Linked DNA regions of Homo sapiens: all the other regions are linked to region 1. The links are contacts of gene promoters, found by promoter capture Hi-C in human tissues and cell types (Jung and others, 2019). All regions are on one chromosome and are shown on one strand. The core of a region is centred on a gene start or on the middle of the fragment in contact, and the rest is flanking DNA. Distances in the headings are between cores, read along the strand shown. Region 1 holds the start of RBM39 (RNA binding motif protein 39). Region 2 overlaps UQCC1 (ubiquinol-cytochrome c reductase complex assembly factor 1). Region 3 has its middle 4.9 kb from the start of MIR1289-1. Region 4 holds the start of EIF6 (eukaryotic translation initiation factor 6). Region 5 has its middle 36 kb from the start of NORAD. Region 6 has its middle 12 kb from the start of EPB41L1. Region 7 has its middle 11 kb from the start of NORAD.

Region 1 (2,931 bases), core at 23-2,522:
AGCCCTTCTGAGCCTTCATTCATTAATTTACTGAGGGTCCACTTGGGCAGACATGCCCTGCTAACCTCTAAAAATTCAGTACTGAGCATTACCTGCCTTCCTCAGTCTCAAGTAGCTTAGACTAGCTACTAAGTACGTCCTCTTTTAAATCAGGAAATGAAAGATCCCCTCTGAGAGGTTAATTTGCTTGTCCAAGGTCACACAGTGTTGCAGCAGCTAGTTACACTAATCAAGGCGTCTCATTTCCAATCTTTTCTGCCCTCAATCATTAGACTGTTAAGATTAGAGGGTAAGATTTTTGCTTTGAAGACTTCTTTCCAGTTTTTTTTCCCAGCATCTAGGAGGAAACCTCACACAGTACTGACCAAAGAACAAATGGCTAATTCATACTCTAATTACCTGGCATCTAGAAGACTTCAGGGGAGAGGAGCCAGGTCCCAGGGGGAAGGGGGCCTTTTTTTTTTTGTTGGGGGGGTGTCTTATTTTTTCACCAAATCGTCCAGTAATATTCAGGAAGGGGAACATTTTTGAAGGAACGGTAGCAACCCTGACACAAGAGCTGATTAAATTCGGGGCACAAAACTGATCCCATGCCAAGGGAAGCAAGAGTTTATTTTTTCCACCTTTTTTTTGCTTTTCTCCACTATTTCCAAGGTTGTTTCAAAGCTCGACAGTGGAGGCCGCGCCATTGGCTCCAAATGACAGGGAAATCTATTTTTATTATCTCCCCCTCTCCCCCTACCCCTAAAGATCTCTTCTTCTGGCCTTCTGATACACTTTTCCACTTCCTCTCCACCCTCAGCGGATAATCTGAATATGGCCGTTTTATCCTATCGCCATAAGGACTAGGTTGCCTTATGGCGACCTTGACAGCCATCTGTGTGGGAGGCCGGAGCGGGGGCGATCGGCTGTGCCGGAGGAATCTTCAGATGGCCGTGAGGAGGCGCCACGAGGGGGAGGTGACCGCTGAGCTCCACTCAGCGAAGAGCTCTCTGAAAGATTGACAGGCAGCCTACCAACTGTCTTTGCCCTAGAGACCCGCTCTGTCTCGCGAGATTTGGGTGCTTACGCGGAGGGGGAGTGAAAGGCGCCTCACTGAATGGGGGATGGGAATATCTGTGGCGCAATCATTGCGCGAGATTGGGCTACGGTCGCCGGAGCCATACTTAGGTCTCGCGATACTTCGGCCGCTCAAATTTGGAGCTTGGGGCAGCTTCTCGCGAGAGCCCGTGCTGAGGGCTCTGTGAGGCCCCGTGTGTTTGTGTGTGTGTATGTGTGCTGGTGAATGTGAGTACAGGGAAGCAGCGGCCGCCATTTCAGGGAGCTTGTCGACGCTGTCGCAGGGGTGGATCCTGAGCTGCCGAAGCCGCCGTCCTGCTCTCCCGCGTGGGCTTCTCTAATTCCATTGTTTTTTTTAGATTCTCTCGGGCCTAGCCGTCCTTGGAACCCGATATTCGGGCTGGGCGGTTCCGCGGCCTGGGCCTAGGGGCTTAACAGTAGCAACAGAAGCGGCGGCGGCGGCAGCAGCAGCAGCAGCAGCAGCAATCTCTTCCCGAACACGAGCACCACAGGCGCCCGAAGGCCGGAACAGGTACGGGGCGTTGCGGACCCGCGTATTATCTCAGCTTTCTCGAGGTTTGGCTCCATTTTGGGCTGAGGGGCGCTTTTGGAGGTCTTTAGCGACCGGGGTGGGGGGTGGTTTTCGAGAAATCGGCCCTGTTTCAGTGACCGCGCCCTTATTTTCCAGTCGGGTATAGTCTGGATTCTTGGGGCGGTAGGGACCCCCGAGAGGCCGCGGTAGAATGGTGACCTGTCTCCTTCGAGGCCTGGGCCGGCCGCGACCTCCCAACATGGCGCCAGTTGAACGCTGCCTTGGCTCATAACCCCTCCCAATGGAGGGAGTTTCTCTTTGCCCCTAAAATGGCAGCGCGGGTTTTTGCCCGGAAAGAGGCGCTCTCGTTCGGGTCTCCCAGTTTCTGTTTTTGGAGTTGACAGCAGAGTTTTAAATATTGGATATTGAAGTCTTCATTTTCGTGTGTTTCGTGTAAGAGGCGTTTTGGATTTACTTACGTAAGCCAAACCTGGTTAAAGTGCATGTCACTTTAGTCATTAATTGTAGGGCTTTTGGAGGTTTTTCTTAAGTTTTCGAGTGTGTCGGCTGAGAAGAAAAATTCAGTCGATTTGAAAAACGTTTACCAGGCCGGGCGCGGTGGCTCACGCCTGTAATCCCAGCAGTTTGGGAGGCAGAGGCAGGCGGATCACTTGAGGTTAGGAGTTCGAGACCAACCTCATCAACATGGTGAAACCCCGTCTCTACCAAAAATACAAAAATTAGCCGGGCGTGGTGGCAGGCGCCTGTGATCCCAGCTATTCGGGAGGTGAGGTGGTAGGATCGCTGGAACCTGGGAGGCGGAGCTTGCAGTGAGCCGAGATCGCGCTACTGCACTTCAGCCTGGGCAACTAGAGCGAAACTCCGTCTCAAAAAAAAAAAAAAAAAAAAAGAAAAATGTTTACTCACGGAATCGTCTTGTTCTTTTCCTAGGCGTTTAGAGAAAATGTTAGACGATATAGGCAACAAGAGTGAAACTTGTTTCACATTGTAAGAGAAATGTTTACTCAAGAAATTGTCTTGTTCTCTTCCTAGGCGTTTAGAGAAAATGGCAGACGATATTGATATTGAAGCAATGCTTGAGGCTCCTTACAAGAAGGTGAGAAAAAACATGTCGGTGAGGTTTATATATTTCTTAATTTAGCATTATTCACGAAACTACTGCTGAAATGTAAACTAACCTCCCCGGAGCCCTCTTGATTTATCTTATCAGAGATGCATTACGTGTAACTTACAAAAGTAAATATATGCTATTGATGTAATAATATTGTGCAGTAGTTTCACTTCAGCGTGATGAATAAATGCCCATCTATCTCTCTTTG
Region 2 (2,924 bases), core at 28-2,527, 420 kb after region 1:
CCCGACCTCAGGTTATCGGCCCACCTCAGCCTCCCAGAGTGCTGAGATTACAGGCGTGAGCCACCGCACCTGGCCACTTAACAGTTTTGAGCTTCTGTTTCCTTGTTTATAGAATCAGGACAACAATAGCATTTTGGCTGTGAGCTCCTCGAGGGCAGGGTTGTGGTTGTGAGGCACAAATAAGATAATAAAATGAAAATATTATTAAATGCATTGTGTAATCATTGTTACGACCATCACTGTCATCATTATTATCAGTACGGATTTTAGATAGTACCCAGGATTATTTCCTTTAGGACTCCGCACCATCAGTGCTGTTGTTGAAACTGCGACTCTTTCAAGCCAGGTGTTGGCTTCTCTAATGAGTATGCATGAGACTTGTCATGTGGAATACTACAAAAAGCTTCCAGAAACCAAAGTAGATTATAGCTATAATGTTCCCCTTATTCAAATGCCCTAAAAGAGACGAAAGTTAAATTGCCATGGTAGTTTGATCATCCCAGAACCGTAGTGTACCTCATCAGCTCCTTTTGAAGATGATTGTGGACTTAATATTATGTGTTCTCATGTTTTCTCAACTGGACAAATGACTAGAATTTCTGAGGACATACATCTCTTCTCTCTTGGCTATTTTCCAAGCCTGAGGGAAGGACTCCTGTACTTCGTGACTATATAGAAATTAGGGCTGCTGGTTCTGCAATTCTGTCTGCCAACCATGTCCCTTGTTTTTCAGCACATTATCAGGCTATGCAGTCTTGAACATGTAGATCCCAAGCAGCAAAACTAGAATTTTCAAAATAAATAAGAAAGGGGTTTGTATTATTATTACTATGTTGTAGAGACAGGACCTCACTTTTTTGTCCAGGCTAGTCTTGAACTCCTGGCCTCAAGTGATCCACCTGCCTTGGCCTCACAAAGCATGGGGATTATACACGTAAGCCACCTTGCCCAGCCAATAAGGGAATATTTTTAAACAGCATGTCATCATAGCAAGCTTCCCTTGTACATTAAAAGTTTGAAATGTTTAAAATGGATTTTAAAATGGACCTCCTCATGCTGGGTTTAGGTTGGCCTTTCATCGCAACGGGAACATACTCTATTTAAATGTTCACATTATTTTCTAAAAAGAGAAAAAGAAATTGTCTTTCATTTAAAATATTTTTCTTTTTATTCTTGGTATTAACAACTTTTTCTGGAACTGCTCAATATGCATGCGTGCCTGAGCGTGCGCGCGCGCGCGCGCACACACACACACACACACACACACACACACAGTTTTGTTTGTATTTTGTCATCATTGCTAAAAGACCCTCAATAGATCTTTCAGTCGTAATGCATGTGAGTTAACAGGTAGACTTTTTTATTTGGTCTCTCCATGTCCCCCGTCTCTCTTGTCTGTCTACTCTTACTCTGTTTCTAAGTATCTCACAAAATATTCCACAGTGGGCTAATTTCTAACCTGAACTTTAAATAGGCTAGCTGATGTTCAGTGCACATCAGCCTGTTGCCGCACAATGACTGTAGAACATGGCGTTGGCACTGCAAAGCATTGGTGGTGGCATTACTGTCTACTACAGCAAACTAAAACATGACCTACAATCTTGTGTTGCATTGTTGCCTTATGATGAATTTGATATAGTCCTTAGGCTTCAGCCAGCAACTCTAGCTGTCCTTTGTCATTCATTCATTCCAGCAAATTCTTAGTCTGCTACTGTTAGCAACTTTGCTTCAAGCCAGTAACCTTAAAGCTTATTCTCACCTTCATGCTCATCAGTGTTTTCCATACCAACTTTCTTCTGTTTTCCCATTCCCCCACCATAATTACACCCACTCTCAACCTCAGGTTTTCCCAGGAGTGGAGCTTGGCTCTACTAGGGATATCTGATGTATTAGTAACCGGCCACTGATGACCCATCTGGTGGCTGTCTCTAGCTGCCACTGGAACTGGAATCTCTGAGTTGTGTTTACTCAAGACCACATTAGCATTTCTTAGTTCTGCCTCTGCAGATAGCCTGAGCTGTGGGGCACAGGAAGGGGCAGCTACATTCCTTCCAGTGTCTATTCCAACACAGGTAGGCAATGGAGTTGGATTGCTCTGTATTCTTATCTTGACCCCACTATTTCCTAGCTGTCTAGCTTTAACTTTCCCAAACATCAGATTCCTCTTCTCTAAAGTGGAGACAGTAACAGTTCCTGTCTCTTAGAGTCCTTGGGAAGGTTTAAGTGGGCTAATGTGTAAAGTTGTAGCACAGTTATTGGCACTTGGTAAATAATGAATGATGGGACCCGTCTCCAGACTTGAATCACTTTGGGGCACCTGTAGATGGGGGAGAGGGCAGACTTAGTAGAGAAAATATGTGTGCTAAGTCTTAGAGGATAAGGAGTTAGCATCCCTTCCATCAGTGGATAAAGAAGAGAAGAATTCCTGGCAGCAGTATGACTAAGAAATAGATGACAGCATGATGTATCTGTGCACATACTTTACTGACTGCAGGGTGAAGTAAGATGGGGAGGCAAGAGGAGGGGAGGCAAAAAAGATGGCCAAGAGCAGATCACTAGAAGCCTTGTAGAGTCCATGGAGGAGTTAAAACTTGATCTCCCATCAGTCCCTGTATCCACATAGTCTGGTTCCTCTGTTAAGCAGTCACATAAATATCTTTAAGGCAGCAACAGTGAAAAGGGGAAAGAGAGCAGCGAATTGGCCTCAAATGAACTGGCATCTCTTTAAAGCTAATATTCCTCCTTGAGAATGCTACTTTAATTAAACATGTGCCCTGCAAGATTCATTATTGCCTTACTTGTGTTCTCTGTTGGTTGTCTCATTCATTAATCTGCCGATTAGTAACCCTGAACTCTTGCATCCCTTCCTTTTTTTTGCATTCCCTTTTTAATATACTATGCTGTTTCCCCTGGGACATAAACTC
Region 3 (2,889 bases), core at 19-2,518, 290 kb after region 1:
TAAGGGAACTGCAGGAGAGGGGCCAGTAGGGAACCCCTGAAGAGTGTATAAAAGCACCCCATGATGCTTTGATGATGGATAGAGATGGCTATAAACATCTGCGAGGCCCAGAAAGCACTAAGCCAGCTATTACACTGGTTCAAAGAAGACTTTTCCCACCCCCATCTTCCTCTCCATGTTAACATGGAGACATGTTGAGTGACTAAAGTGAGCTGAGGATGACAGAGAGGGAAAAATAGAGGGAAAAAAAGTCAACCACTTTCCTCTTTCTTTCTCACTGCAAGGTAACAGTCTGGAGCACCAAAACGATAGTCTCTTGCTGCTGTTCCTCTGAGTCCATTCTTTTTTTTTTTTTTTACAGAGTCTCACTTTGTAGCCCAGGCTGGAGTGCAGTGGCACGATCTTGGCTCATTGCAACCTCCGCCTCCTGGGTTCAAGTGATCCTCGTGCCTCAGCCTCCTGAGAAGCTGGGATTACAGGCGCCCACCACCACCACACCCAGCTTTTTTTTTTTTTTTCAGTAGAGATGGGGTTTCACCATGTTAGCGAGGCTGGTCTTGAATTCCTGACCTCAAGTGATCCGCCCACCTCGGCTTCCCAAAGTGCTGGGATTACAGGCGTGAGCCGCGACGCCCGGCCCATTCTCTCTCTCTCTCTTTTTTTTTTTTTAAGAGACAGGGTTTTGCTCTTTCACTCAGGTTGGAGTGCAGTGATTTGATCATAGCTCACTGCAGCTTCAATCTCCTGGGCTCAAGCGATCCTCCTGGCTCAGCCTCCCGAGTAGCTAAGACTATAGGCCTGTGCCACCAGTCCTGGCTAATTTGTTTAAAAATTTTTTTGTAGAGATGGGGACTCACTGTGTTGTCCAGGTTGGTCTTGAATTCCTGGCATCAAGCAATGTTCCTACTTTAGCCTCCCAAAGTGCTGGGATTATAGGCTTGAGCTGCCGCGCTGAAGTTCCATTCATTCATTATTTTTAAAATATTGATTGAGCACCTACTGTGTGCCAAAAGTTGAGTTATGCACTGGGAGGGACCCAAAGAACAATAATAAATGAACTCTGTCCAGAGCCTCTGTTCACAAACTCACATGGCAGGCAAGCAAGTAAAGAAATAGTTCACACACACACAGTGTAGTAAATTCTATAAAGAGGGAGCAGCTGGCTACACAGCATCAGGCCACTATGACTTGTTTGTGAAGGATAAAAACGCTAAAATTAGCCAGGTGTGGTGGTGCACTACTGTAGTCCCAACTATTCTGGAGGCTGAGGTAGGAAGGATCGCTTGAGCCCAGGAGGTTGAGGCTGCAGTGAGCTGTGTTCAAGCCACTGCACTCCAACCTGGGCAACACAGCAAGACCCTGTCTCAAAAAAAAAAAATGCTAAGCAGACAAGCCAGGCATGGTGGCATGTGGCTGTAGTCCCACCCACTCAAGAGGCTGAGTCAGAAGAACCTCTTGAGCTTAGGAGTTTGAGACCAGCCTGGGCAGCATAGCAAGACCCCATCTCAAAAAAAAATGCTAAGCAAAGTGGCAGGGGTGGGGTGGTGGCGGGGATTCCAAGCAGCATGTGCAAAGGCACAGCAGCATGCTAGAGCATGGGATGTGTTAGGAATGCCGGACACTCCTCTTGCTGATGCCACCATCTGGTTGAATTGTGTCAATCTCCCTAGTTGGATTCCCTTTGTCAGCTGGATATTTTCTCCCTGGTCCTGACCCCGCCTCAGTAGGCAGTTCTTATTCCAGTCCTAGCCCCCTCTCACTCACTAAGTCAGGCTCGAAGTGACCAGCGTACCCAAGCTTGAGATTCTTGAAGTGGATGACATCTTTTCACTATCACTCAGGGCTTGGGCAATAAAGGATGTCCAGTCACAGTTCCCACAGGACCAGGTCCTCTCCTTCCTCAAAAATGGGCCCTTGGTCAGGCCTGATGGCTCATGCCTGTAATCCCAGCACTTTGGGAGGTGGAGGCAAGTGGATCGCTTGAAGCCAGAAGTTTGAGACCAGCCTGGCCAACATGGCGAAACCCTGTCTCTACTAAAAATACACAAATTAGCCGGGCCTGGTGTCGTGCACCTGTGATCCCAGCTGCTCGGAAGGCTGAGGCACAAGAATCGCTTGAACCTGTGAGGAGGAGGTTACAGTGAGCCAAGATTGCTCCACTGCACTCCAGCCTGGGTGACAGAGTGAGACAAAAAAAAAAAAAAAAAAAAAGTCGGGGGGGCCCTTAACTATATATATATATATATTTTTTTTTTTTTTTTTGAAAAAAACAAAAAGTCCCGTAGCCAGGACTACAGATGTGCACCACCGCGTCCAGCTTGCCTTATGTTCTTGAGCAACCCTCTTTCCCTTTCTGAGCCTCAAATTCCTCAGCTGCAATATGGGGATAACAGTACTTACCAGCTAGGGTTCTTATACACAAAGTGGGAATTAGAATTAGATGGAGGGAAGGAGGAGTGGAGGAGTCCAGCAAGGATCTGAGATTTCTGAGCTCAAGAATGACAACAAGGTTTCCAGTGATTAGAGAGGTTTCCTGTGATTAGAGAGATTGGGGTGTGAGGGGAGAGGGGAACTTTCTCTTTTAACTTTATAAACTTTGGTATTATTTGAATATTTTTACAATGAACATGATTTAATTTTATAATCAAATATATTTGGTATGAATATCATGCATCGATAAAAAGGTGTTTAAATTTTTTTTTTATTTTATAGAGACGGGCTTGTGCCATGTTGCTCAGACTGATCTCCAACTCCTGGGCTCAGGCAGTTTTCCCGCCTCAGCCTCCCAAAGTGCTGGGATTACAGGCATGAGCCACCGTGCCCTGCCTAATAAAGTTTTTAAAAAGCTGATGTTACTATATTGTGTGGAAAGTCATCTAGGAGACTGAT
Region 4 (2,785 bases), core at 1-2,500, 460 kb after region 1:
GATGCCCTAAAGAGGACTGAGTGGGTCTGAGGTGAATGAGTGAGGAAGAGCAGAGTATGTGGATACCCGGAAACACACACACACACACATCATCATTATCATCATCATCATTGTCGTCGTCATCATCTTGCTGAGTCATCATCATCATCATCATCATTGTCGTCGTCATCATCTTGCTGAGTGTCTCTTGAAGTACAGGCTGTGACAGGTTGTGGGCCATTTTCCTGAACTCACCACTTACCCGGGATAGTAAACATGATACACATCAATAAAGGCAGACTTTATTGTGAATCACAGCGCCTGGTGTATCCTGAACTTTGAGGAGTTATGGGAGGGACACGTTGGGGGAATGGGAAGGGCACCATTCAGGCCAATTATGGGGAAACCCCTGGAGGAGGGTGAATGCCGAAGGAGGAATTGGGGGAGTCCAGGGGCTCCAAGTTACCACTGTGACATTTTGAGAGAACCCGGGGCTTTTGCAGATTCTACAAAATGTGGGCCAAGTTCATCCTGTCCAAGTGTGCAGCAGGGCCCTTGGCCCCCATCACTATCCTGGGGACAGAAGTTGGCTGCTGAGTGAGTGATAGAGGCCGTGCGAGAGGCACATCGTGGAAGCCAACCAGCACCCACATCCTTGCCCACCCTGGACCCCTTTCCAGCCTTTTCCTGAGCCCCTGCTTCCTCAGTCCTCCCCTCTCTCCAGCACCTGCAGCCTGGCTGCCTTTCCGTCTCTGGCTGCGCTCTTTCTCCAGCCTCGGTCTGGCCGCACTTCTGCCTCCTGGAACTCTCTCCATGGGTAGCCTCTTCTAGTCCACCCGTCTTCAGCCCCTCATCTCATTCGTCAGCACTCCACTCCCCTGCTGGGCTCCAGACATGGACTTCTGTCCCTCAAGGCACAGCTGGACTCATCCCTTTCCCCAAACCTGCCCTTCCTCCGGCTTCATTTCCATCAATACCTCCATCATCAACCCTTCCGCGAGACACTCCTGGCCCCTCCTCTCCCTCATGCCTCACAACCGACCAGCCGGAGGTCTAGGTCGATGACAGCTCCTAAAAAGCTCCTGAATGAATAATGAATGAATGAACGCGAGCAGGCTAGGCGTGGGGCCAGGCGGGGTCGCGCCCAGACCGCTCGCGACCATAGAGTCCGCCGGAGGCCGGAGGTAGAGGGGCTGGATGCGTGGCGGGGAGCGCCGGGCTCTCCCGGAAGTCTCCCTGGACGGAAGTGGAAACGGAAACCTTTTTAGGGAGTCCAAGGTACAGTCGCCGCGTGCGGAGCTTGTTACTGGTTACTTGGTAAGCTGGTGTGAGGGGAACCTGGGAGGGTCAGCTCCGGTCCTGGGTCGGGAGGGGTGGGGGCCAGAGGATTCAGGGCCGGAGGTTCTGGTGGGGGCCCAGTGGGCGGGACCCGAGGACGGAGGGGCCGGGAGGCCGAGAGGGGCGGGGTCGCGGCGGGGCCTGAGGGACGGAGGCCGGGATACTTGGGAAAGGATCCGCCGGCCTTGAACTCCCGCCTCCGCCGCCCCTAGGCCTCATGGCGGTCCGAGCTTCGTTCGAGAACAACTGTGAGATCGGCTGCTTTGCCAAGCTCACCAACACCTACTGTCTGGTAGCGATCGGAGGCTCAGAGAACTTCTACAGGTGCGGCGGGAGCCCCGGGGCTTACGGTGGCGGGGAGGCGTGCGCAGGAGTCAAGAGCTCCGGCAGTGGGAGGGTGCCGGCCCCTCTGCCCCGCCACCACCGAGTCCATGTCCCTACAGTGTGTTCGAGGGCGAGCTCTCCGATACCATCCCCGTGGTGCACGCGTCTATCGCCGGCTGCCGCATCATCGGGCGCATGTGTGTGGGTAAGGCAGGTGGAGGACGCCGAGGGAGGGAGTGGTCTCCAAGCACCATTAATTACACCCCCGGAGGGAACCCGGAGTGACCTAGGGATTCCCAGGGTATCATCTGTTATCTCTGGGCACTATAGAATCTCTCAGGCCAAGCGTCAGGAGATCGGGGCAACCCTCTAGCAAAGGCTGCTGGATAATAGTAATAACAAATAATGTAAAGTGCTTTCACTCCTGTTCTCATTCCTTCGTCACAAAGACACTAGAAGGTAGGAGTTACTGGCCTAACTTGACTGATGAGGAAGTTGAGACTTGACCTAAGTGACTCAGTAAGTTCCACACCTAGTTCCTAGTGTTGGAGAAGGATTTTTCTCTTTTTTTTTTTTTTTTGAGGCCAGATTTTTGCTCTTTCGCCCAGGCTGGAGTGCAGTGGCAAGATCACAGCTGTCTGCATCCTCAACTTCTTAGGCTCAAGTGATCCTCCCACCTCAGCCTACCAGGTAGCTAGGGCCACAGGCACGTGCCACCACACCTGGCTAATTTTTACATTTTTGGTAGAGACGCGGCCTCCCTGTGTTGCCCAGCCTGGCCTTGATCTCCTGGGCTCAAGTGATCTTCTTACCTTGGTCTCTTAAAGTGTTGGGATTATAGGCGAGAGCCACTATACCCAGCCGAGGATTTGTATCTCATCTCTCCCTGCCACTGACTGGGCAAGGTGCTTTCTCTTTCTAAGCATCCATTTCTGTCTCTGTAAAGATTAGCTAAGATATGCGGTCTTCCTGCTCAGTTACGTTGGAATCTTAAATTCCCTTTACCACATCTCTACCCTACCTTCCTACCTGTCAGCACTGTTAATTCTGGTCGTTGGTCCTTTCCTTTTTATTATTATTATTATTTTTTTTTGAGATGGAGTTTTCGCTCTTGTTGCCCAGGCTGGAGTGCAATGGCACGATC
Region 5 (2,907 bases), core at 301-2,800, 340 kb before region 1:
GTAATCCCAACACTTTGGAAGGTCGAGCAGGTGGATCACCTGAGGTCAGGAGTTCGAGACCAGCCTCGCCAACATGGTGAAACCCCGTCTCTACTAAAATACAAAATTAGCTGGGCGTGGTGGCACATGCCTGTAATCCCAACTATTTGGGAGGCTGAATGTCTTGAATCTGGGAGGTGGAGGTTGCAGTGAGCCAAGATCACACCACTGCGCTCCAGCCTAGGCAGCAAGAGTGAAACTCTGTCTAAAAAAAAAAAAAAACAAAAAGGGGCCAAGTGTGATGGCTCACACCTGTAATCCCAGCACTTTGGGAGGCCGAGGCAGGCAGATCACCTGAGGCCAGGAGTTTGAGACCAACCTGGCCAGCATGGTGAAACCCTGTCTCTACTAACAACACAAAAAAATTAGCCAGGCTTGGTGGCTCATGCCTGTAAGTCCCAGCTACTCGGGAGGCTGAGACATGAGAATTGCTGAACCTGGGAGGCGGAGGTTGCAGTGAGCTGAGATTGTACCACTGCACTCTAGCCTGGGCAACACAGTGAGACTCGGTCTCAAAAAAAAAAAAAAAAAAAAGAGAATTCCATCACATCACCTCCAGTGGGGGGATATCCAGGAAGACAATTTCAGCTCACTATAAAGAACTCCCTAACAGTTGGAGCTACCCAAGAATGGAATGGACCACCTTGGGAGTGATGAACTCCTTGTCAATATATGTATTCAAGGAAAGATTAAGTCTTCATTGGGAAATTGAACTAGGATCCTGGTGACCTCTCAAGTTGAAAAAATGGGCAAGTTCTATTAGGAAGGGAAAGACAAGATCAAAGCTGTGCTTCCAGACAATTATGTGACTGTATGTGTAGAAGAAATGGGTGGGGAGGGATCAGAGGCAGGCAGGACCAGTAGGAAACCACTGCAGTGGTCCAGGAGATAAAAGAATAGACTGGGGCTGGGCACGGTGATTCATGCCTGTAATCCCAGCACTTTGGGAGGCCGAGGAGGGTGGATCACAAGGTCAGGAGTTCAAGACCAGCCTGGCAAACATGGTGAAACCCTGTCTCTACTAAAAATACAAAAAAATTAGCCAGGCATGGTGGTGGGTGCCTGTAATCCCAGCCACTTGGGAGGCTGAGGCAGAGAATTGCTTGAACCCGGGAGGCGGAGGTTGCAGTGAGCCGAGATCACACCACTGCACTCCAGCCTGGGCGACAGAGCGAAACTCGTCTCAAAACAAAACAAAACAAAACAAAAAACAAAAAAAAAGAATAGACTGGGAGGCCATGGGAATGGAAAGCCAATGCAAGTGTGACTTGAAAGAGGCACTGGCACTAGGCTGGTAGTCAGGAGCTGCAGGTTCTAGTCCTGCCCCTGCCATTAACTTATTGTGTAGTCTCAGGTAAATCCCAGCCCTTGAGTAGATCCCTTCCTTTATTCAAATTTCAGAGATCCCATCTGTAAAATGCAGAATGATCTGCAATATCCTTCCTAACTCTGGATTCTGTGAATGGGAGAGAGATAATGAAGGATAACTGGGATGATGTATTAGAAAGCCTTCATACACTTCAAAGTAATAATATCATTAGTACAAGTACCATTGTTATTATTATTTCAAAGGCAGCCTCACCAGAACGTGGTGACTGGACTGGTAGGAGGGGACAGGACAGAGTCAAGTGGCCTGCATCTGTGGGTGGACAAGACACCAGGATCTCTGATCTTTTGGGAAGGTCAGCTAACCACTGTATCCCTCCCCCAAGATCTGTGAAGACAAACAGTATTCTGTGCCCTGTCACCTCATTAACTGCTTCCTCATTCCTTTGAGCCACACCTTATACTTGGCTAAAAGAAGCAACCAATTCTAAGAAAAGTTAGCCTCTGTACTCCCTCCTTTCAATGTTCAAAAATGGGTCCTCGTCTGGGACTTTCCCTATATAATAATAAGTTTCATCATCTCATATAGGAATAGCCAACATTATTGAGTACTTAGTATATGTTAGGAAATTTATTTACATAATTTTCTCACCCTGGGAGGTAGCTGTAATGGCTTATGAAGATCTATAACTTTCTCAGTCACATAGCTTATGAGAAGGATTCCAGTACAAGTCTGTGCGATTTCAAGGCTGCATTCTTAAAGATTTTTTTTTTTTTTTTTTTTTGAAATGGAGTCTTGCTCCATCACCCTGGCTGGAGTGCAGTAGCACTATCTTTGCCCACTGCAACCTCCATCTCCCGGGTTCAAGCGATTCTCATGTCTCAGCCTCCCAAGTAGCTGGGATTACAGGTGCCTGCCACCATGCCTGGCTAATTTTTGTATTTTTAGTAGAGATGGGGTTTCACCATGTTGGCCAGGCTGGTCTCGAACTCTTAACCTCAGGTGATCTGCCTGCCTCAGCCTCCCAAAGTGCTGAGATTACAGCCGTGAGCCACCCTGCCCGGCACCCTAAAGATTTTTACTATGTCTTTTTGTAGCAACTTAGGGAGGAGGGCAAGATCAGTGTTGTTGCCACTTTATAGCTGGGGAAACTGAAGCTCAGAGAAGGTAAATTCTGTCATTTGGACAAATTAGTAAAGTCTTCTATGGTGCAGTTTGGTGCTGTTTCTACTTCTCAGAGCTTCCTCCTCTGCACCTTCCAGGACCTCCCCAGTCCTCCTAGGAGTGATGAGTAGAGACTTGCCCAGACTACTTAAGGGAAGGACTTACACTTGTCCTTCTCCTGGGGAAGGGAAAGGTTCCTGAAAGGTGAAAGTTAATTTCCACCTCCCCTCCCCACCCACCAACTCACACACCCTAAACCAGGACCTTGTGGTGACCCGCGCTGAAGGCTTACAGAGTGAGTCATGCGGGGCTGACCTGTCAGAGTCACCCAAGCACAAGATACTAAGCTTAGTTTAGAGGGGTGGAAAAGTAGGCAA
Region 6 (2,786 bases), core at 138-2,637, 400 kb before region 1:
CTAAAAATACAAAAATTAGCCAGGGATGGTGGCGTGCGCCTGTAGTCCCAGCTACTTGGGAGGCTGAGGCAGGAGAATCACTTGAACCCGGGAGGCAGAGGTTGCAGTGAGCCAAAATCGCGCCACTGCACTCCAGCCTGGGCAACAGAGCGAGACACTGTCTCAAAAAAAAGAAAAAAGAAAAAAAAAGAAAAAGAAAAAGAAAACCTTTTATCGGTCCTGATTTCCTTTGAAAATGCAATGAAAACTGCAGAGCTTCTCCTAGAAAAATGTACATGGGTATGCACCTGCACACACATACACACACACAAAGTCACACTCACACACACACATACCTACCTTTATCATCTTTCAGGTATCAAGAGAGCTCATGAAGCCCATGCATAGATCACCCCCTGAGTGATAGATAGATAATCCCCTTGGTTAAGACTTGGGCTAGATGATCTCTAATCAGCCACGATAAGAAATTAGCTGTATATGTGTGTATTTTGTATTTTGTATCTAATTTAAAGGAACCCTACATTAAAGACTTCACTAAGACGATGAGCTTTTATGTGGGCTTTTGTGGGACATAGATGTTGATTGGCTAAATGCTGTGCTTCCCCAGAGCCTGCCTCACCCTTGTCATATTGCCTCTGAAGTCACCCTCTCCATTCCACTCTCTCTGCCCTTTTTCAGCAGGGAGTGAGCACACAGTCCTGAAAAATACTGCTACCCCCACTAGCTGTCTCTGTCCCCAGCTATGAGAGGGTAGAAAAGAGCGAGCCTGGTCTGCCTCTCATACTCCCACCCCAAAGCCCTGGCTCAGAGGTCAACCAATCAAGAGGCCCCCAGATGGCACCTCTATCCCCAACACACACACACACACACACACACACACACACACACACACACACAAACACACCCTCCCTCACATAGCCACAACCACAGGACTGCACCTCCAGACACCTGGCGGTGCGGTCACTCGGAACCGGCAGGAGTTATTTTTAGAGGCCAAGTGACAGGATGGTGAGAGCAGTTCCACTCTGTCAGAGTTACTGCTGCCACCACCAGCTCTGATGAATCACTCTCCACTACGTGAATGGACAAGTCTGTCAGCATGGCCACGGAGGCCATGCCAGCTTCTAGAATGAATGTCTTGGATTGGTGACTACGCTGATCACACCAGGCTGAGCCCAGGATCACACCAGGGACAAGACTGCCAGGCCTGAGCCAGTGCAGCCAACCCAGCCCAACTGCCCAGCACAGCCTCCCATAACCAATACAGTCGGGCCAACACAGCACAGCACAGCACAGCCCGGGCAGGTAAGCCCCTTCAACACAGTCCAACCCAGCCCCATCAGGCCACCCAGGGGCCTCTCTTTGCAAAGTCCTTTTAGAGTGGCTATTGATGCCTCCCTCCGCCCAATCCGTGCAAGTGAGCCTCCCACCCACTAAGCTACCGCTGCCGGGTTATTAAGATAATGAGCCGCCAATAAATTGGGCAGATTCAGACAGTGTCAATGCAGCTATCAACTGGTTTCATCTTTCATCGTTGAAAAAGTACATGATAAGCCTTAAAAGTGTGCATACCGTTTAACGCAGAAATTCCTTTTTTAGGAATGGATCCTTAGGGAACAATGAATGACACAAAGATGTGGCTATAAGAACATTTGTCTAAGCACTGTATACAGGAGTAAAGTAGAGCATTGGAGTTAATATATATGTCCAATAATAGTGGCTACGTTATAAAAATAGTGATACATACATATGCTGAAATACTACGCAGCCACACAAAATAATGTTGTGGATCTATATGTGGCTATATAATCATGTTCTTAACACAATACAGGTAAAAAAGCAGAGACAAAATGGTACGTAACAAATGATCCAATTTCTACAAAATACGTTTTTTGTTCTTTTTTCTTTTCTTTTTTTTTTTTTTTGAGATGGAGTTTTTGCTCTATTGCCCAGGCTGAAGTGCAGTGGCATGATCTCGGCTCACTGCAACCTCCGCCTCCTGGGTTCAAGCAATTCTCCCACCTCAGCCTCCCGAGTAATTGGGATTACAGGTGCCCCGCCACCACGCCTGGTTAATTTTTGTATTTTTAGAAGAGACAGGGTTTCACCATGTTGGCCAGGCTGGTCTCGAACTCCTGACCTCAAGTGATCTGTCCACGTCAGCCTCCCAAAGTGCTGGGATTATAGGCGTGAGCCACCGTGCCTGGCCCCAATTTCTATAAAATATGTATGTATGTGTACATGCCTAGAAAAAAGCAAACAGGAAATATTTTAAAACATGTTACCAGACGTTGTTTTATGATAGTGGAATTATTTCTTTTGTGTACATTTGGGTCTTGTTTTGTTGCTTACTTTCTGGTATATATGTGTAAACATATTTATATAAGAAAGGTCTGTTACCTTCACCTCTCTCAAAGCTTCTGGCCTGAACCATTGAAGGTCCCTCCTAGAATCTCACTAGAGCCCCCACCTTTCAGCAACCACAGCCCCCCTTGGGCTGCCTCTCTGGCTTTGAACTTTGCTGCCCTCTTCAGTTGTTCCCTGGAGTTTCACTAATGGGGCCCATCTAGCCAATTCCCACAGTCTCCTGACACAGGCCCTCACAGCGGAAGTACCCTCCAGGGCTCCCTATTCATGCATAGAAACCTAACAGAGTCCCATTCCCTCATCTGACAGTAAAAGAAAAAAAAAATAATAAAGATGACAGTCGTAGTGAACCTTCACATTTCTACTTTGTCTTCCTTTTTACAGAGCACTTTATTATACATGTTTCACTTAGCCCTCCC
Region 7 (2,802 bases), core at 195-2,694, 320 kb before region 1:
TATGGGGATCAAACATTATTGTATGTAGAAAATATTTTGTGAAGTGTAACAAACTATAAAATGGAGGGGGAGGAGAATGTGACTGATCATTTGTTGTGCATCTGTTTCACAGTCTGCAGGAGTTCTGACAGCATTCCTCTGAGTCAGGGCTAGTGTCCTCTTGTACAGATGAAGAGATAGTCTTCAAGGAATATGTTGACTTAACCAAAGTCACAGGCTTGCCAGAGTTAGAATGTAGAACTCTCTGACCTCTAAGACCAATCTCTTACACTGTTTGGCAAAGTGTGGCTTGGGTCCCACCAAGGCAGGGCAGGTGATCCCAATTGGGGCTTAGCCCAGGAGGGTTCTTGACTTGAAAGAATTCAAGGGTAAGTCAGTGATGTCAGATAGTAACTTTTATTGAAGTGGCAGTGTTCGGCAGCAGCAGACGTACTGCTTCTTGTGGAGCAGGGTTACCCCATAGGCAGTGTGCCTAGAGTAGCAGCTCAAACGCAGTTCTGCAGTCATATTTATACCCACTTTTATTTACATGCAAATTCAGGGGCAGATTATGCAGAAATTTCTAGGAAAAAGGTGGTAACTTCTTGGTCTTGGGTCACTACCATGGAAAGGGCAGTAACCTCTGAGTGTTGCCATGGCAATGGTAAACTGGCATGGCACACTGGTGGGCATGTCTTATGGAAAGCTTCTTCTACCCCATCCCTGCTTTAGCTAGTCCTCAATTTGGTCCAGTGTCTGAACCCCACCTCCAGACTCGAGTCCTGCCTCCTACCTCACTAGTGGTCATAATACGATGATTTCAGGTGGAACCCAGATGAACATTTTTTAAAACCAGGTTATGTCATAGTTTTTATTTTTAAGTATAGAGCCGGCTTACTCATACTACAAAAGTCCTACATTTCACACAGCCAGGGTGTAGTAGGCTGAATAATGGCCACCCAAATATATCAAGTCCTAATCTCTGGAAACTACTGTAAACATTACTTTATTTGAGAAAATAATTTTTGCAGATGTGATTAAGAATGTTGAGATGAGGATATCATTGAGGATTAGCCAAGTGGGCCCTAAATTCCATCACACATATCCTTATAAGAGAGAGGGAAAGGAAGATTAGACCAACACACACAGAAGAAGAGGAAGCAATGTGACCATGGAGGCAGAGACTGATGTGGCCACAAGCCAAGGATTGTTGGCAGCCACCAGAAGTTGGAAGAGGCAGACGGATTCTTCCCCAGAGCATCTGGAGGGAATACAGCCTTGCCAACACATTGACTTCAGCTCAGTGAAACTCATGTTCAATTTATGGCCTCCAGAACTATGAGAGAATAAATTTCTGTTGTTTTAAGCTACCAGGCTTGTAGTAATTTGTTTTGGCACCCACAGGAAACAAATAAATGGATCTACATGACTTCAAAATTCATGCCTCTTTTTTTCTCTTTTTATTATTTATTTATTTATTTTGAGACAGAGTCTCGCTCTGTTGCACAGGCTGGAGTGCAGTGGCGTGATCTCGGCTCACTGCAACCTCTGCCTCATGGATTCAAGTAATTCTCATGCCTCAGCCTTCCAAGTAGCTGGGATTACAGGCATGCGCCACCACGCCTGGCTAATTTTTGTATTTTTAGTACAGATGGGGTTTCACCATGTTAGCCAGGCTGGTCTCAAACTCCCAACCTCAGGTGATCCACCCACCTCGGCCTCCCAAAGTACTGGGATTATAGGCATGAGCCACCGCACCCAGCCTTCTCTCTTTTTAAAATAAACTTATTATTTTAAAATAATTTTACATTTACAGAAAATAAATGTAAGTCTTTGATTTAGAGTACAGAAATTTCCCATTGTGTTAGGGCTCACCAGAGAAAGAGAACCAATACGGTGTGTGTGTGCATAAAAGAGATTTATCATAAAGAATTGGCTTACCTAATTATGAAGGCTGGCAAGCCCGAATCCCACAGTGTGGGCCTGCAGGCTGATGACCCAGGAGAGCCAATGGTGCAGTTTGAAGGCAGCCTGCCGGAGAATTCCATCTTGCTTAGGGAGGCCAGTCTTTCTGTTTTATTCAGGCCTTCAACTGATCAAATGAGGCCCGCCCACACCCAAGTTCAACCATTTAAATGCTAATATCATCCAAAACCACCCTCCATGTTGACACATGAACTTAACCATCATACTCAAGAGTACAGAGAGTTCCTGTATAGCCCTCACCCTGCTTCCCCTATTATTACCACCTTACATTACTATGGCATTTGTCACAACTAAGAAACCAACACTGGTACATTCCTATGAACTAAATTCCACCTGTTTTCTGCTCCAGAGTCCCTTCTAGGACACCACACTACATTTAGTCATCATGTCCCTTTAGTTTCTTCTGGCTTGTAACAATTACTCAGGCATTTCTTGGTTTTTAAGACCTTGACAGCTTTGAGGAGTACTGGACAGGTATTTTACAGAGTGCCCCTCAATTTGGGTTCATCTGATGCTTTTCTCATAGTTAGACTGGGGTTATGAGTTTGGGGAAACATGTCATAGAGGTAAACTGCTCTTCTCATCAAATCATAGGTACATGTTATTGACATGACTTCATCAGGATACATGTTAGCGACATGACTTGATTACCTGGCCAAGCGAGTGTCTGTCCAGTTTCTCCCCTGGGAAGTTGCTTGTTTTTCCTCCCTTTCCACTCTTTGGAAGCAAGTTACTAAGTGCAGCCCACACTCAATGGGAGAATTAAGCTCCACAACCTGAAGGGGTTGTATCTACCTACATTATCTAGAATTCTTCTTTAAGGATCATTTGTCTCTT

What was found. Contacts are between HindIII fragments. The study calls those that stand out against the background at their distance.
Region 2: a fragment that was not itself captured here is called in contact with the fragment with the promoter of RBM39 in region 1 in 1 of the 25 tissues and cell types used here (dorsolateral prefrontal cortex).
Region 3: a contact is called between a fragment that was not itself captured here and the fragment with the promoter of RBM39 in region 1, in 1 of the 25 tissues and cell types used here (dorsolateral prefrontal cortex).
Region 4: the fragment with the promoter of EIF6 here is called in contact with the fragment with the promoter of RBM39 in region 1 in 1 of the 25 tissues and cell types used here (dorsolateral prefrontal cortex).
Region 5: a contact is called between a fragment that was not itself captured here and the fragment with the promoter of RBM39 in region 1, in 1 of the 25 tissues and cell types used here (dorsolateral prefrontal cortex).
Region 6: a fragment that was not itself captured here is called in contact with the fragment with the promoter of RBM39 in region 1 in 1 of the 25 tissues and cell types used here (dorsolateral prefrontal cortex).
Region 7: a fragment that was not itself captured here is called in contact with the fragment with the promoter of RBM39 in region 1 in 1 of the 25 tissues and cell types used here (neural progenitor cells).

What each region holds. Positions count from the first base shown.
Region 1 is chr20:35,740,601-35,743,531 of GRCh38, reverse strand. RBM39 (RNA binding motif protein 39) reads left to right here and starts at 1,272. Exons shown (of 17, transcript NM_184234.3): 1 at 1,272-1,591; 2 at 2,645-2,708. The coding sequence starts at 2,658. RefSeq lists enhancers at 833-932, 1,103-1,322, 684-1,369, 1,383-1,532 and a silencer at 1,793-1,892. The HindIII fragment of the contact is 31,582 bases long and covers 1-2,931 here.
Region 2 is chr20:35,319,603-35,322,526 of GRCh38, reverse strand. The region is part of intron 7 of UQCC1 (ubiquinol-cytochrome c reductase complex assembly factor 1); the gene reads left to right. Among named protein-coding and RNA genes, the nearest start is that of FAM83C, 29 kb to the right of the region's middle. The HindIII fragment of the contact is 3,522 bases long and covers 1-2,924 here.
Region 3 is chr20:35,447,771-35,450,659 of GRCh38, reverse strand. It overlaps a transcript of GDF5 not described here. Among named protein-coding and RNA genes, the nearest start is that of MIR1289-1, 4.9 kb to the left of the region's middle. The HindIII fragment of the contact is 8,774 bases long and covers 1-2,889 here.
Region 4 is chr20:35,283,237-35,286,021 of GRCh38, reverse strand. EIF6 (eukaryotic translation initiation factor 6) reads left to right here and starts at 1,250. Exons shown (of 7, transcript NM_002212.4): 1 at 1,250-1,296; 2 at 1,530-1,641; 3 at 1,761-1,846. The coding sequence starts at 1,535. FAM83C (family with sequence similarity 83 member C) reads left to right here. Exons shown (of 4, transcript NM_178468.6): 4 at 1-291. FAM83C-AS1 (FAM83C antisense RNA 1) reads right to left here and starts at 771. Exons shown (of 2, transcript NR_109815.1): 1 at 707-771; 2 at 250-552. RefSeq lists an enhancer at 688-1,238 and a silencer at 1,331-1,520. The HindIII fragment of the contact is 18,620 bases long and covers 1-2,785 here.
Region 5 is chr20:36,085,849-36,088,755 of GRCh38, reverse strand. No RefSeq gene overlaps it. Among named protein-coding and RNA genes, the nearest start is that of NORAD, 36 kb to the right of the region's middle. The HindIII fragment of the contact is 7,451 bases long and covers 1-2,907 here.
Region 6 is chr20:36,141,249-36,144,034 of GRCh38, reverse strand. It overlaps a transcript of EPB41L1 not described here. Among named protein-coding and RNA genes, the nearest start is that of EPB41L1, 12 kb to the left of the region's middle. RefSeq lists a silencer at 771-820. The HindIII fragment of the contact is 4,923 bases long and covers 1-2,786 here.
Region 7 is chr20:36,060,346-36,063,147 of GRCh38, reverse strand. No RefSeq gene overlaps it. Among named protein-coding and RNA genes, the nearest start is that of NORAD, 11 kb to the right of the region's middle. The HindIII fragment of the contact is 8,994 bases long and covers 1-2,802 here.